Linked DNA regions of Homo sapiens: region 2 is linked to region 1. Evidence: promoter capture Hi-C in 16 types of primary human blood cells and fetal thymus (Javierre and others, 2016). All regions are on one chromosome and are shown on one strand. Each heading gives the region's core, a stretch centred on a gene start or on the middle of the fragment in contact. The rest is flanking DNA. Distances are from core to core; before and after follow the strand shown. Region 1 holds the start of SNTA1 (syntrophin alpha 1). Region 2 has its middle 13 kb from the start of EIF2S2.

Region 1 (7,572 bases), core at 3,128-5,627:
GGAAGCTGAAGTAGGAGGATCACTTGAGCCCAGGAGGTCGAGGCTGCAGTGAGCTGAGATTGTGCCACTGCACTCCAGCTTGGGTGGCAGAAGGAGACCCTGTCTCAATAAATTAATTAATTAAATAAATCATTTTCAAAATTCATAATGCTATAGTTTGATCCCTGGATCTTTTGATTAAGTGCTTTGGGTGTTCACCAGTGTTTGTGCAACTTACAAAGTGCTTCAATCACTTTTTCTTAAATGTTTTCGATTTTCTCATGTAACCCATAAATATATATGCCTACTATGTACGCACAAAAATTAAAAATGAAAATAACCGGACAAAGTGGCTCACACCTGTAATCCCAACACTTTGGGAGGCCAAGGTGGTCGGATCACTTGAGACCAGTAGTTTGAGACCAGCCTGGCCAACATAGCGAAATCCTGCCTCTACTAAAAACACAAAAAAGGGCCAGGTGCGGTGGCTTATGCCTGTAATCCCAGCACTTTGGGAGGCCAAGGCTGCCAGGTGGATCACCTAAGGTCAGGAGTTCGAGACCAGCCTGGCCAACATAGTGAAACCCTGTCCCTACCAAAAATACAAAAAATTAACTGGGCGTGGTAGCGGATGCCTGTAATCCCAGCTACTCGGGAGGCTGAGGCAGGAGAATCACTTGGACCCAGGAGGCGGAGGTTGCAGTGAGCTGAGATCACGCCATTGCTCTCTAGCCTGGGCAACAAAAGTGAAACTCTGCTCAAAAAAGTAAATAAATACATAATAAAAAAATAAACAAATAAAAAAATATGGCTGGGCGTGGTGGCTCACGCCTGTAATCCCAGCACTTTGGGAGGCCAAGATGGGCAGATCACCTGAGGTTAGGGGTTCAAGACCAGCCTGGCCAACATGGCAAAACCCCATCTCTTCTAAAAGTACAAACATTAGCCGGGCATGGGGGCGCATGCCTGTAATCCCAGTTACTCGGGAGGCTGAGTCAGGAGAATTGCTTGAACCGGGAGGCTGAGGTTGCAATGAGCCAAGATTGCACCATTGCACTCCAGCCTGGGCAATAAGAGCGAAACTCCATCTCAAAAAATAAATAAATAAATAAATAAATACAAACACAAAAAATTAGCTGGGCCTGGTGGCACATGCCTGTAGTCCCAGCTACTCAGGAGGCTGAGGCAGCAGAATTGCTTGAACCCAGGAGGTGGAGGTTGCAGTGAGCCAAGATCACACCACTGCACTCCAGCATGGGCGACAGAACAAGACTCCATCTCAAAATAAAACAAAAATACAAAAATTAGCCAGGCATGGCGGTGTGTGCCTATAATTCCAGCTACTCAGGAGGCTGAGGCACGAGAACTGCTTGAACCCAGGAGGTGGAGATTGCAGTGAGCCGAGATCGCACCACTGCACTCCACCCTGGGCAACAGAGCAAGACTGTCTCACACACACACACAAAAAGGCAACAATGTGGGAACCCACTGATACCCCTCAAACCGGAATCAAGAGACAAGTCGGCTATTCCTATGGCCTCAAAAGACTGCTTTAGCAATCATAATGTTTTACAATCCAAAGTCCAGGCTGGAAACCAAAGCCTTAGAGTCTAGAGATTCTAAAAACCTGCCTGAATGGCATCTTGGATACAAAAGAAGCTAATACATTTTACTAAACATCTTTATTACCAAACTCTTAAATGCCCTTTTAAAATAAGAAATAGTAATAAGAGTTCACCTTAGTTGCACTTACCAAATGCCAAGCACTGTGCTAAATGCTTTCAATGTTGATTCATTGCGTCTTTACAATACCCCATCACATAGGTATGTTCAGTTTCCTATTAGGGAAACTGAAGTGTGGAGGGAAGCCCCTTGTCCAAGGTCACTCCACTAGTAAGTAGCGAAGCCAGTATTTGCACCTAGGCCTCCAGGCTCCAGAACCAACACTATTAGCCCTACCACAGACGACAAGTCAGGCCCTCAGATATCACACTCCTGGCTCATCCCCAGAATACTGAAGATGAAGAATTAGTGGCCCAGAGTGGGAGGTCATTGTTCCAAGGTCACACAAGTCTGGTGGCGGAGCTGGGACTGGAACACCTCTCTTGACGCCCACACAGGCCCGACCGTTTGCTTATCTGCACAGAGCTTGAAGTCTAGGAGAGGAAGGGGTTTCTATTTATATCTGCCCTCCCCCACCTGAAACTAGGGGCTTCAGTTCAGTTTGAAGCTATGATCACTCATGGCTGCCTCAGACTAAGCTAGACTTTATAGGAGGGGTTACCATGGCAACAGGAGCCCAGATTTGGATCCAATGGAAATACCTGAAGTCTCCTAAAAGTACCCTCCCCTCCACCTAGAATTATGGAGCTGGGGAGTAACTTTGTGTGACCTTGCAAAGTCCCTGCTCCTCTCTGAGTCTCAGTGTGTCCATCTGCAGAATGGAATTCTGTATGAATAAGTTCCTTCCTGCTTTGACACACTGAGTGTATAATTTTTGGATTCATCTGTTGCCCTATCCCATGCTGGAGATTGGGGGTAAGACTGGTGCCCATACCCTCATTTTCTCATTTCTCCTTTTTAGCCCCTCTTGGTTGGCTGCCTGGGGATCTGCCCTTCTACAGGAAAGAATCAACTTCCCTGAGCACTCTCTGAGGGACAGTAGCTGATAATTAAGGTTCAAATCCCAGCACTGACACTCACTATGTAATCGTGGGAAAATCATTTTAACTTTCTGAGTCTCAGTTTCTTCACCTGCAATATGGGAATTATACTCCCTACCTTTCACCACTTGTTGCCAGGATGAAGTGGATCATGAGACTAGTGTCCTGGGCACAGCACCTGGCACACAGTGGTGGCATTCACCACCATCCCCACCGCCTCAGCCAAGCCAAACGGTCTGGAGGCACTAGTCAACAGAACCAGTACCAGGGAGACCCCAGAGGGTACGGTATGTATTCAAGGTGGAGACAAAGGCTGATACCCTTTCCCAAAGCACCTGCTGGGGGCTGGGACCCTGAGAAACAGATGGGCAGGAATAGTGAACCCAGCAGCTGGGGGTGTGCAAGGATTTTAACAACTATGTTTAGTTGCTTTGGGAGTATCTGCTGGCCTCCATTTTTCCTCTCCGCTAACAGCAGTAATTAACTAGGCACCTACAGTGTGCTGGTGTGGTGAGCCCTGCTCTCAGAAACATCACAACTCTGTCATCCTCTTATACAGTTGAGGAAACAGATTCAGAGGCGGGACGGGACTTTTGCAACCTCACACAGCTGATCCTGGATTCAAACACAGTCTGGTTGCACCCTAACTGCACCCCACTAGCGGTCAGTCCTGGGGGCTGAAAGCTCTATCCTGTGCAAGGTGGAGATAGTCAGATCAGGAGACCCAAATCCAGCTGTCAGGGCTCCCTGCAGCCTTCCTGGGTCCTTAGATTCCTAGGTCCTTGCTGGCCTTCTGCCTGTGACCCCAGCCTGTGCCTGCACCCAGGCCTCCTATCCACCCCTGTGCTTCCCAGACTCCAGGCTTCCCCTCTGCACCCACCTTGGTTGCTTCTCAGGGACTCCCTCCTCCCTGTCCCACTGGTGTCCCGGCCTCAACCCCCTTTCTCCACACTCTGCTTTCCGGGGGACCCCTCTTGTCCTTGATGTTCATGCTGGTTACCCCTCAGACCCCCCCGCCTCCACACAGAACTCCCACCCACGTGTCCTTGGTGCTCCCACAATCTTATCCACACCTGTGTCTTCCGTGCCCCCTAAGGCCACCAACTACTGAAACCCCCTCCAACCTTGGTGTGCCCAGTGCCCTCCGTTACCTGTTTCCTCAGACCCCCCTTACCCCCAGACAGGAAGCCTCCAGCTCCATGTCCTGGGCGCGCTGCCAGCCCCCTGCGCCCTCGGCTGCCCCCAGACACCACGACCCCGCGCCCTCGGTGTCCCGCGCCCACCTTTGATGCTGATGCCCAGCCCACCGGCGTCGGCCTTGCGCACCGTCACGCGGCGCCGCTGGAGCAGTAGCGCCTCTGGCAGCTGCGGGGGCCCGGCGCCCGGCTCCGCGGCGCCGTTGAGCTGCGCGGGCTCCTGCTCCCGCGGAGCGCCGGGCTCGGGACCAGGGTCGCCGTCGGCGGGGCTCACGGTCAGCACGTCCTCCGCCAGACTCAGCAGCACCCGCTGCCATCGCTCGCCGCCGGCCCCCGAGCCCGCCCCGGCGCGCAGCTCCAGCAGCCCGGTGCGCGGGGCGCGCCTGCCGGACGCCATCTTCGCCTCCGAGCCCCCGGGCCGCCGCGCTCGCCCTGTCCCGCTTTGCCCAGCCCGCTCCGACCAAGCGCCCAGGGCAGAGGGCAGCGGGGGCCCGGCTGGGCCAGCCGCCACCCTACCCCGGCCGCTGGGGGAGGAGCTCTGGGGGCGGGGCTACCCTGGGGTGTGGCCAGTGCTGGGGAGGGGGCCTCGGGCAAATGCAGGAGGCCGGGGCGGGGCCCGGGAGCCGAGGGCCGCCGTGTGGGACTACCTAGCGGGGTGGGTCAGAAGGGCGGCGGGGCGGGCCACTAAGTAAGGCGAAAGCCCGGGAGGCGTGGTGCTGGGCGGGGCGTCAGGGGGCGGGGCTTCGCGTCGGGGGCGGAACCCAGTGAGCCCGCGCAGGGGGCTCGGCGCTCGGAATGCCCATCGAGGGCCGGGACTGTAACTCCCGGACGTGGGAGCGCATGAAAAAGAGACAGAACCACGTATCCTGGTGCGAAGCACTGGGCATCGGGCTGGGCTGCATATGGCGGAGGGCTGGGCTGCGTATGGTAGAGCGTTGGACTCCAAGGCTTGAGTTTAAGAGGTAGACACCGTCTGGGCGTGGAGGCTCACGCCTGTAATCCCAACACTTTGGGAGGCCTAGATGACAGCCCAGAAGCTCGAGGCTGCAGTAAGCCGCGATCGCGCCACTGCACTCCAGCCTGGGTGACAGAGCGAAACCCTGTGTCAAAAAAAAAAAAAAAAAAAAAAGGTAGATGCTGAGCCGCGAGAGACCTTGCGGGCACAGTTGCTAGTTGGGGAGCTGAGGAAGAAGTTGGTTTCCTATCGGGGAGGGCGGGGGATGGGGGGTGGGGGTCGAGGCTTTGGTCTGTGGGCGTGGCTTATCGCTGGCGTGGCTTCTAAAGATGACAGGCCCCGCCCCCTGGAGGAGACCGCTACCGACACCGCTTAGGGCTTGGGGGAGGTGTGGGCAGGATCCCCACTTCAAAACTGGAGGGAAGTTTAAGAGATTAACCCCTGGCTGTGTTCACAGTCGAGTATAGAAAAGCCTGAAGTCCCACACTTTGAGGCCTGGCAGAAAAAAAACAGAACTGGTGTGTGGGAAGAGGGTTGCAAGGTGGGGCTCTGGGTCTGGGCGACTGGAGACATGGTTTCTAATCTTTGCTGCCTCTGTTAGCTCCAAGTCGACTTTGGTCCCCTCACGTCACTGCTCTAGGCCTCAATTTCCTCATCTGTAAAATGTGGATCATAATAATACCTACTTCACTGGGCTGGTGTGAGGATTAAATCAATGTGAAAACACGTGGTAAACTGTGACTCCCTATTCTATAGAAATAATCACTTTCATTTAGTGAATGCTTACTCTTACCTAGGGCTGGCAGAATATTTTCCAAGTGTTATCTTTACATTAGCCTCCTGGAGTAGCTAAGAGCACCCCCAGCTGGGCACAGTGGCTCACACCTGTAATCACAGCTGAGGTGGCAGGATCGCTTGAGCCTTGGAGGTCCAGGCTGCAGTGAGCTGTGATTGCACCATCACACTCCAGCCTTGGTGACAGAGCAAGAAAAAAGAGCACCCCTATTATACAGAAGGGAAAACTTGGATTTAGTCTAATTGGCCTAGGTCACACATTTATGAGTGAGGAAGAGCTGCGATTCAAACCCAGGCCTGTTTGACACCAGTGCCTGGGCACTGAACCACTCTGCTAGACAGCTGACAAATACAGAGGTAAAGCATGATTGTAATCTGAAAAATCCACCACATCACACAGCTCAACTGGCCTTCATACCTGCTCCTTGTCTCTATCCTCCATTCCTAGCTGGGATATGTTGAGCAATAAATAAGTAGGACTACACCAGTGTTTAGCCTCCCTGAACTTTTGGGTAAAATCCTCCACATAAGATACCATCAAGAAAAAAAAGAGGGGGCCAGGTATGGTGGCTCATGCCTGTAATCCCAGCACTTTAGGAGGCCGAGGCAGGTAGATCACGAGGTCAGGAGTTTGAGACTCAGCCTGGCCAACATGGTGAAACCCCATCTCTACTAAAAATATAAAAAAATTAGCCGGGCGTGGTGGCAGACACCTATAATCCCAGCTACTCAGGAGGCTGAGGCAGGAGAATCACTTGAACCCGGGAGGCGGAGATTGCAGCAAGCAGAGATTGCACCACTGCACTCCAGCCTGGGTGATAGGGTGAGACTCCGTCTCAAAAAAAAAAAAAAAAAAAACCAACAACAAAAAAAAGGAATTGTTTTAAGTTAGAGTGGTAGGTGTCAAAACAGGAGAGACACAGGTTTTAAAAAAAGAACCCAGGGTCTTTTATACATATATATATGGGATGCCGAGGAGGAATGATCACTTGAGGCTAGGAGTTTGAGACCACTTGGGCAACTTCACGAGACTCCATCTCTACAAAATAAAGAAATTAGCCAAGCGTGGTAATGTGCACCTGTACTCCCAGCTACTTAGGAAGCTGCAGCAGGAGGCCTGTTTGAGGCTGCTGCTGTGAGCCACAATCATGCCACTGCACTCCAGCCTGGGTGACAGAGCAAGACCCTGTCTCAAAAATAAATAAAAGAAAGTGAGAGGAAGGAAGGAGAGAAGGGAGGCAGGGAAGGAATATAGCATTGTATATAAGCATTGATATCTTAAAAGTATGACTGTGCTTAAAGATTGTAGGACAGCCTGAGGAATTTGGGGTAAGCACTTGTGATAAATAACTACAGCCTACTTGGCTTGTGGAAGCTTCACTCCAATGGTAGAGAAGGGAGGGGAGGACAGACCTGGCAGGAGGCAAGAGACCAGCAGGGAATTGAAGCTCCTTTCCCAAGACCAAAGCCTGGAACCAGATCCTTAAAAGTCCCCCCACGTACTGCCCTGCTTAAAAAAGACTTAATGAGGCCCAGACAAACTTACTGAGAAAGAGCCCTAAGAGAGGGCTTCTCCTCTGGGGGACAGTTTCCTGTGGATATAACAGGAAGGAAGGAAGTAGGGAAAGGAGTGATGTGTGCAAAGGGGCTAACACAGAAAGAAGATGTAGAGCCAAGGAAACAGTGACGTGTGTATGCATATGTATACGTCTGTATGTGAGTATGGGTGTGTGTGTTTGTGATCACACTTGATAGGCAGTGCCAATCACCTGTAGCTACCCCCAAGAACCCTGTAGCTGCAGGAATGCTCTATCCCTACACTGTGGTCAGCCGATGCCTCTCTGCTGTGGCTCAGAAATTGGCCTCCCAGATAGATACACATAGGCCCGGCTCCCTGCCAAGCCCCAGGCAGAGCTCCCAGAGAAAACCAGTTCACTCCCAAGGAATAGGAGAGGGGGAAGGGGAAAAAAAGGGAGAGAGGGGA
Region 2 (7,572 bases), core at 2,488-4,987, 680 kb after region 1:
GTGTCTCAAAGAGATATTTTTATGTCCATGTTCACAACAGCATTATTCATACCTGAGAAGCACCCCGGGTGTCCATCAGTGGATGAATGGGTAATCAAAATATGGTGTGTACATACAATAGAATATCATTCAGCCTTAAAAAGGAAGGAAATTCTGATACATGCCACAATATGGATGAACCTCAAGAACATTATGCTTAGTGAAATAAGCTAGCCACAAAAAGACGAATACTGTGTTATCCCATTTATTTGAGGTACCTAGAATAGTCAAATTCATAGAAAGAGAAAGTAGAATGGCGGTTGCTAGGGGCTAGGGAGAGAGGGGGGAAGAGAGAGTTGTTGTCTAATAGGTACAGAGTTCCAGTTTTGCAAGATGGAAAGAGTTCTGGAAATTGGTTGTACAGCAATGTGAATATACTTAAAAATAGTTGAAAAGATAAATTTTATGGTATTTGTATTTTACCATATTTTTTAAAAAGAGAGCACTAAACTGGGAGACAAAAGACCAAGGTTGGAGTTCTTGGTTGTTTTCCACAGATAGATCAGTCTCAAGGAATTTGAGACTTCCTTGAAACTCAAGGAAGTACTCAAGGAAGTTGAGTAAAGGAAGCTTCTTTACTCATTGTTTCTGTTAATTCATCTTTAAACAGGATAAAAAAGACTGTGGAGTCTAGATTTGTATGAGGATCAAATAAAAACCAAAAAAAACAAACGTTTAAAATAATTTTTTGAGTTGTAGTTGTTCTCAATATTCCAGAGCCTCTGATCTCTTGATATTTGTTACAAGTTTCACATCTTATTTCATAATGAAATGCTAAAGATGCCTCAGCAATAGCCAGTTGACTTCAAAGGTCTTGTATGAGGAATCCTTTTAATTTGGGCTATTCACCTTATAATTTGGTCCTGGGAAAACAGCAAATAAATAAACTTTTATGAGGACTATTTATGATCTAAGATGCTAATTATCAATGTAGTTTAGCATGAACTAATGAAATACAAGCTCAGGATTTTCATGTTAGTATAAAAAAGCTCTTCTTCAACAAATCCCCAAATGGCGGATGACGCCTGTGCAGGGGGCGGCAGGGCGTGGGGTGCGGAGGTCGGGTGGAGGCCGGGCGGAGGCCGGGCGGAGGCCCCCGCAAGCCCTGGGAGGGATGGGGAACCGCGGTGGCTTCCGCGGAGGTTTCGGCGGTGGCATCCGGGGCCAGGGTCATGGCCGTGGACTGGGCCGGAGCCGAGGCCATGGAGCTCGCAGAGGCAAGGCCGAGGATAAGGAGTAGATGCCCGTCACCAAGCTGGGCCACCTGGTCAAGGACATGAAGATCAAGTACCTGGAGGATGTCTCTTCTCCCTGCCCATCAAGGAATCTGAGACCATTGACTTTTTTCTGGGGTCCTCTCTCAAGGAAGAGGGTTTGAAGATTATGCCGGTGCAGAAGCAGACCCGCGCGGGCCAGCGCACCAGGTTCAAGGCGTTTGTTGCCACCGGGGACTACAATGGCCACGTCGGTCTGTGCGTTAAGTGCTCCAAGGAGGTGGCTACTGCCATCCGCGGGTCCGTCATCCTGACCAAGCACTCCATTGTCCCCGTGCGCAGAGGCTACGGGGGAACAAGATGGACAAGCCCACACCGTCCCTTGCAAGGTGACAGGCCGCTGCGGCTCTGTGCTGGTGCACCTCATCCCTGCACCCAGGGGCACTGGCATCGTCTCCGCACCTGTGCCCAAGAAGCTCCTCATGATGGCTGGTATTGATGACTGCCACACCTCAGCCAGGGGCTGCACTGCCACCCTGGCAACTTCGCCAAGGCCACCTTTGACACCATCTCTAAGACCTACAGCTACCTGACCCTCGACCTCTGGAAGGAGACTATATTCACCAAGTCTCCCTATCAGGAATTCACTGACCACCTCGTCAAGACCCACACCAGAGTCTCCATGCAGAGGACCCAGGCTCCAGCTGTGGCTACAGCATAGGGTTTTTATACAAGAAAAACAAACTGAATTAAGCCTGAAAAAAAAAAAAAAAGCTGGTCTCAAATTAGGGGCCAACATGGAAGAATTAATATCTGTTGAGTACTTACTAAGTGTCAGGCCCTATAGATGTTACATGCATTATCTCATTTAATACTCAACAACAGCCTTGTCAGGTTAAAAGTATTATACCCATTTTATAAACAGGTTAATGAAGGCTCAGAGAGTGTCAGTCACTTACCCAACATAACCCAGTGAGTAACAGAGATGGAATTTGAGCCCAAGTCTGTGTGAATCTGAAGCCCATATTATTTCTACTATGTTACAGTGCCTCTGAAAATATATTTAACTGTGCCTACTTCTAATAGAGTTTATGATAAATGATATATATTTGATGTTTATATATTTATATCAATTATTTTACTTCATCATTACAAGTAAGATAGACTATCTAGGGATGATTATCACCACTTTACAGATGAGGAAACAGATGGTCAGAAAATTTAACTTACCTAGCTTCAGACCAGTAAATGATAATAACAGGGCTTGGACACATGTACCGCAACTCTCAGACTCCTACTTTTTCCACATTGGCCTATGAGAGTAGAATTTTATCTATATTTTACCTATGAATTTTCTTTTTTTTTTTTTTTTTTTTTTTGGAGACGGAGTCTTACTCTGTCGCCCAGGCTGGAGTGCAGTGGTGCAATCTTGACTCACTGCAACCTCTGTCCCCCAGCTTCAAGCGATTCTTCTGCCTCAGCCTCCCAAGTAGCTGGGAGGGATTACAGTCGCCTGCCACTGTGCCTGGCTAATTTTTGTATTTTTAGTAGAAATGGGGTTATATCATCTTGGCCAGGCTGATCTTGAACTCCTGACCTCATGATCTACTCGCCTTGGCCTCCCAAAGTGCTGGATTACAGGCGTGAGCCACCTCGCCCAGCCATATCTATGAATTTTCTGGTTCTAACTTTTTTTAATAGGAGCAAAGAGTGGACATCTTGACAGTCTTGCACTTCTGTTTATGCTTGGACAGATTAAACACATATGTTTATCCCTGTTCACTCCCCAAATCACTGAAGTGACAGTGAGTTAACATTTTTAGGTTTACCAGTCTACAGACAAAGAGAATAAGAAAGAAATCAATAGCAGATTAAGGATATCAACAAATTTTTGGAAGATGGAAAACCATAGCTGAGCTGAGAAAACAATTCTAAATGTTTGCTGAGGGTTATACTAACAAGGGACAAACAGATTCGTACTGCAGAACACTAGAATGTCAGGACTGGGACAGAGCAGATCAGAGGTGATGTGAGAGGCAGAAGAGAGAGGGTTTGGCTGAAAGCCTTTATAGGAAGTGAAACTGCCAGGTCTTTTTCTCCATCCTACTCACTTAGACAACTACCCTTTCATCTCCCTAGCAGCCCCTGGGACAAAATTGAGGTAGAGAAGTTCCAGACACTGAGATACCAGGCACAGCTAAAGATATAATAGCAGGGAGGCTAAGGTAGGAGGATTTCAGACTGAAAACAGAGATTAGATGAATTGTCTACATGCTGAATGGTGAAGCGCACTCAGTCCTCCTGCTGAAATTTATTCCAGGAATGCTGACAGCAAGGCTTGTATTCTCCAGGCAAGATATCAGGGAATTAATTTTAATTAATTAACCCCAGAGGAAAGATCTATACATACTGATATTTGAGGTCCCCCAACAAAACACCTAGGTACCCACTTTATCATCCTACAGATAAACTTCCTGTTAACACAGAGCTTCCAAATACTTAGTGACTCACTCTTAAATATGAAGAGACAACAAAGGGTCACCAGATATTTAAGATAAACCTCCACCAGGAAAGACAGCATCAAATAGAGAAAAAAGAAACTCAAAGGGAACAGAAACTGAAGAGAACAGAAAAATATTTTTAAAAAACAATAAGCAGTCTATGAGAGATAATAGAAAATACTGCATCCATAAAGCAAAGATAAAATGCTCTAAAAAAAATAGAGTAAGTAACAGCTCTGGGGAATTAAAAATATAATAGAAAAATTGGCTGGGCATTATGGCTCATGCCTGTAATCCCAGCACTTTGAGAAGCCAAGGTAGAAGGATTGTTTAAAGCCAGGAGTTCAAGACCAACCAGGGCAATATTAGATAGACCTCTTCTCTGCTAAACATTCTTTTAAAAAGAGAAATTAGGCTTGGTTCAGTGGCTCACGCCTGTAATCCCAGCACTTTGGGAGGCCGAGGCGGGCGGATCACGAGGTCAGGAGATCGAGACCATCCTGGCTAACATGGTGAAACCCCATCTGTACTAAAAATACAAAAAATTAGCCGGGCATGATGGCGAACACGTGTAGTCCCAGCTACTAGGGAGGCTGAGGCGGAAGAATGACATGAACCCAGGAGGCAGAGCTTGCAGTGAGCCGAGATCACACTACTGCACTCCAGCCTGGGCAACAGAGCGAGACTCCATCTCAAAAAAATAATAAATAAATAAATAAATAAATAAATAATAAAAAAAGAAAAAAAATTAGCCAGCTGTGGTGGCTCATGCATGTGGTCCCAGCTACTTAGGAGGCTGAGTCAGGAGGGCTGCTCAAGCCCAGGAGATGGAGGCTGCAGTGAGCTATGATCATGCCACTGCACTCCAGCCTGGGCAATACAGCAAGACCTGTTCTCAAATAATAATAATAGAAAAATAAATAATTTATATAAGTCTTAATATATAAAGTTGAGGAAATCTCTCAGAAAGTAGAACAGAAATACAAATGGAAAAATAAAAGAGAAAAGATAATTAGAGGATGAATCCATAAGGTCGACCATTAGATTAACAGGAGTTCTGGAAATACAGAAGAAATGGAAGAAAATTATCAAAGAAACTGAGTTTCCAGAGTGGCAGAGCCTGCTGAGTGCCCAGCATAATGAAAGAAAACAAAACAAAGGAAAAACATTATGGCACATCATCATGAAATTTTTTAACACAAAGGATAAAGAGAAAATCAAAAATCTTGGTGATAGGAGGTGAGGAGGGGGCAGGGAAAGGGCAACAGGTTACTTATGAAAGAGCAGGTAATAGGAATAGCATTTTTGTCCATAGTAACATTAGTGGCTAGAAGACGATATAGGGAGGCTTTCAAAATTCTGAGAGAAAATACGTTTTCAATCTAGAACTCCTATACTAAGCCATATTATCAGTCAAGTATGAGGAATAAATAAGTATATTTTTAGGCATGCAAGGATCAGAAATTTACCCCTCATCCCCACATAACTTTTCTTAGGAAAGCACTGGAGGATTTGCTCTAGTAAAACAAGAAAGACAGAAAAAAAATCCTAAAATTTGTATGGAACAAAAAGTCCAAATAGTCAAAGCAATCCTAAGCAAAAAGAACAAAGCTAGAGGCATCACACCACCTGAATTTAAAATATACTGCAAGGCTCTAATAACCAAAACAGCATGGTATTGATATAAAAACACAGACCAAGGGAACAAAAAGAGAACCCAGAAATAAATCCACGTACAGCCAATTGATTTTTGACAAAGGTACCAAGCACATACATTGGGGAAAAATGTTGTTGGGAAAACTGGATATCCATATCCAGAAGAATGAAACTAAACTCCTGTCTCTCACCATACGCAAAAAATCAACTCAAAATGTATAGGGAAAAGAAAGAGCGATCAGACTGTTACTGTGTCTATCTAGAAAAAGTAAGACAAAAGAAACTCCATTTTGATCTGTACTAAGAAAAATTGTTCTGCTTTGAGATGCTGTTAATCTGTAACTCTTGTCCCAACCCTGTGCTCACAAAAACATGTGCTGTATTGACTCAAGTTTTAAGGGATTTAGGGCTGTGCAGGATGTGCTTTGTTAAAAATGTTTTTGCAGCCAGGCGCAGTGGCTCATGCCTGTAATCCCAGCACTTTGGGAGGCCGAGGCGGGCAGATCATGAGGTCAGGAGATCGAGATCATCTTGGCTAATATGGTGAAACCCTGTCTGTACTAAAAATACAAAAGATTAGCCAGGCGTGGTGGCGGGCCCCTGTAGTCCCAGCTACTCGGGAGGCTGAGGCAGGAGAATGGCATGAACCTGGGAGGCGGAGCTTGCAGTTAGCCGAGATTGAGCCACTGCACTCCAGCCTGGGTGACAGAGCAAGACTCCGTCTCAAAAAAAAAAAAAAAAAAAAAATCACACCTGTAATCCCAGCACTTTGGGAGGCTGAGGCGGGCAGATCACGAGGTCTGGAGATCAAGACCATCCTGGCTAACACGGTGAAATCCCGTCTCTACTAAAAATACAACAAATTAGCTGGGCGTGGTGGTAGGCGCCTGTAGTCCCAGCTACTCGGGAGGCTGAGGCAGGAGAATGGCATGAACCCAGGAGGCAGAGCTTGCAGTGAGCCGAGATCGTGCCACTGCACTCCAGCCTGGGCGACAGCGCAACACTCCTTCTCAAAAAAAAAAAAAAATGTGTTTGCAGGCAGTATGCTTTGTGAAAGTCATCGCCATTCTCCATTCTCTATTAATCAGGGACACAATGCACTGTGGAAGGCCGCAGGGACCCCTGCCCAAGAAAGCCTGGGTATTGTCCAGGTTTCCCCGGACTGAGACAGCCTGAGATATGGCCTCGTGGGGAGGGAAAGACCTTACAGCCCCCCAGCCCGACACCCGTAAAGGGTCTGTGCTAAGGAGATTAGTGAAATAGGAAGGCCTCTATGCGGTAGAGATAAGAGTGTGGCATCTGTCTCCTGCACGTCCCTGGGAATGGAATGTCTCGGTGTAAAACCCGACCATACATTCTATTTACTGAGATAGGAGAAAACCTCCTTATGGCTGGAGATGAGACATCATGGCGGCAATACTGCTCTGTTACTCTTTACTGCACTGAGGTGTTTATGTAAGCTTAAACATAAATCTAGCGATTGTGCACATCCAGGCACAGCACCTTTTCTTAAACTTATTCATGACACAGAGTCTTTGCTCACATGGTCTTCTGCTGATCCTCTCCCCACCTTCACCCTATAGCCCCGCCACATTCCCCTTGCTGAGATAGTAAAGATAGTGATCAATAAATACTGAGGGAACTCAGAGACCAGCGCTGGTGCAGGTCCTCACTTGCTGAGCGCCGGTCCCTGGGCCCATTTTTCTTCCGCTATACTTTGTCTCTATGTCTTATTTCCTTTTCTCAGTCTCTCGTCTCCACCTTGCGAGAAATACCCACAGGTGTGCAGGGGCAGGCCCTCTTCATCTGGTGCCCAATGTGGGTTCCTTTCTCTACGGTGAAGATACGCTAGAGTGTGATCATTGAAGACAAATCGACGAGAGATTCCCGAAGACTTCCATGATCAGCCTTGTGGTAAGCTTGTGCACTCAGAGAAACCCAGGGTAAGAATGGGTCAAACTGAAAGCAAATATGCCTCTTATCTCAGCTTTATTAAAGTTATTTTAAGAAGAGGGGGAGTTAGAGCCTCCACAGAAATCTAATCATGCTATTTCAAACAATAGAACAATTCTGCCTATGGTTTCCAGAATAGGGAACGTTAGATCTAAAAGACTGGGAAAAAATTGGCAAAGAATTAAAACAAGCAAATAGGGAGGATAAAA

The links. The method cuts DNA at HindIII sites, captures the fragments that hold promoters and counts their contacts. A CHiCAGO score of 5 or more calls a contact.
Region 2: a fragment that was not itself captured here is called in contact with the fragment with the promoter of SNTA1 in region 1 in 1 of 17 cell types (endothelial precursors); the score reaches 5.0 in endothelial precursors.

The regions. Positions count from the first base shown.
Region 1 is chr20:33,439,386-33,446,957 of GRCh38, forward strand. It overlaps SNTA1 (syntrophin alpha 1), which reads right to left and starts at 4,378. Exons shown (of 8, transcript NM_003098.3): 1 at 3,926-4,378. The coding sequence starts at 4,235. RefSeq lists silencers at 735-913, 3,924-3,983, 4,094-4,573 and enhancers at 4,804-4,873, 4,852-5,352, 5,324-5,383. The HindIII fragment of the contact is 9,847 bases long and covers 1-6,961 here.
Region 2 is chr20:34,121,317-34,128,888 of GRCh38, forward strand. It overlaps the pseudogene RPS2P1. Among named protein-coding and RNA genes, the nearest start is that of EIF2S2, 13 kb to the left of the region's middle. RefSeq lists a silencer at 3,378-3,447. The HindIII fragment of the contact is 6,261 bases long and covers 608-6,868 here.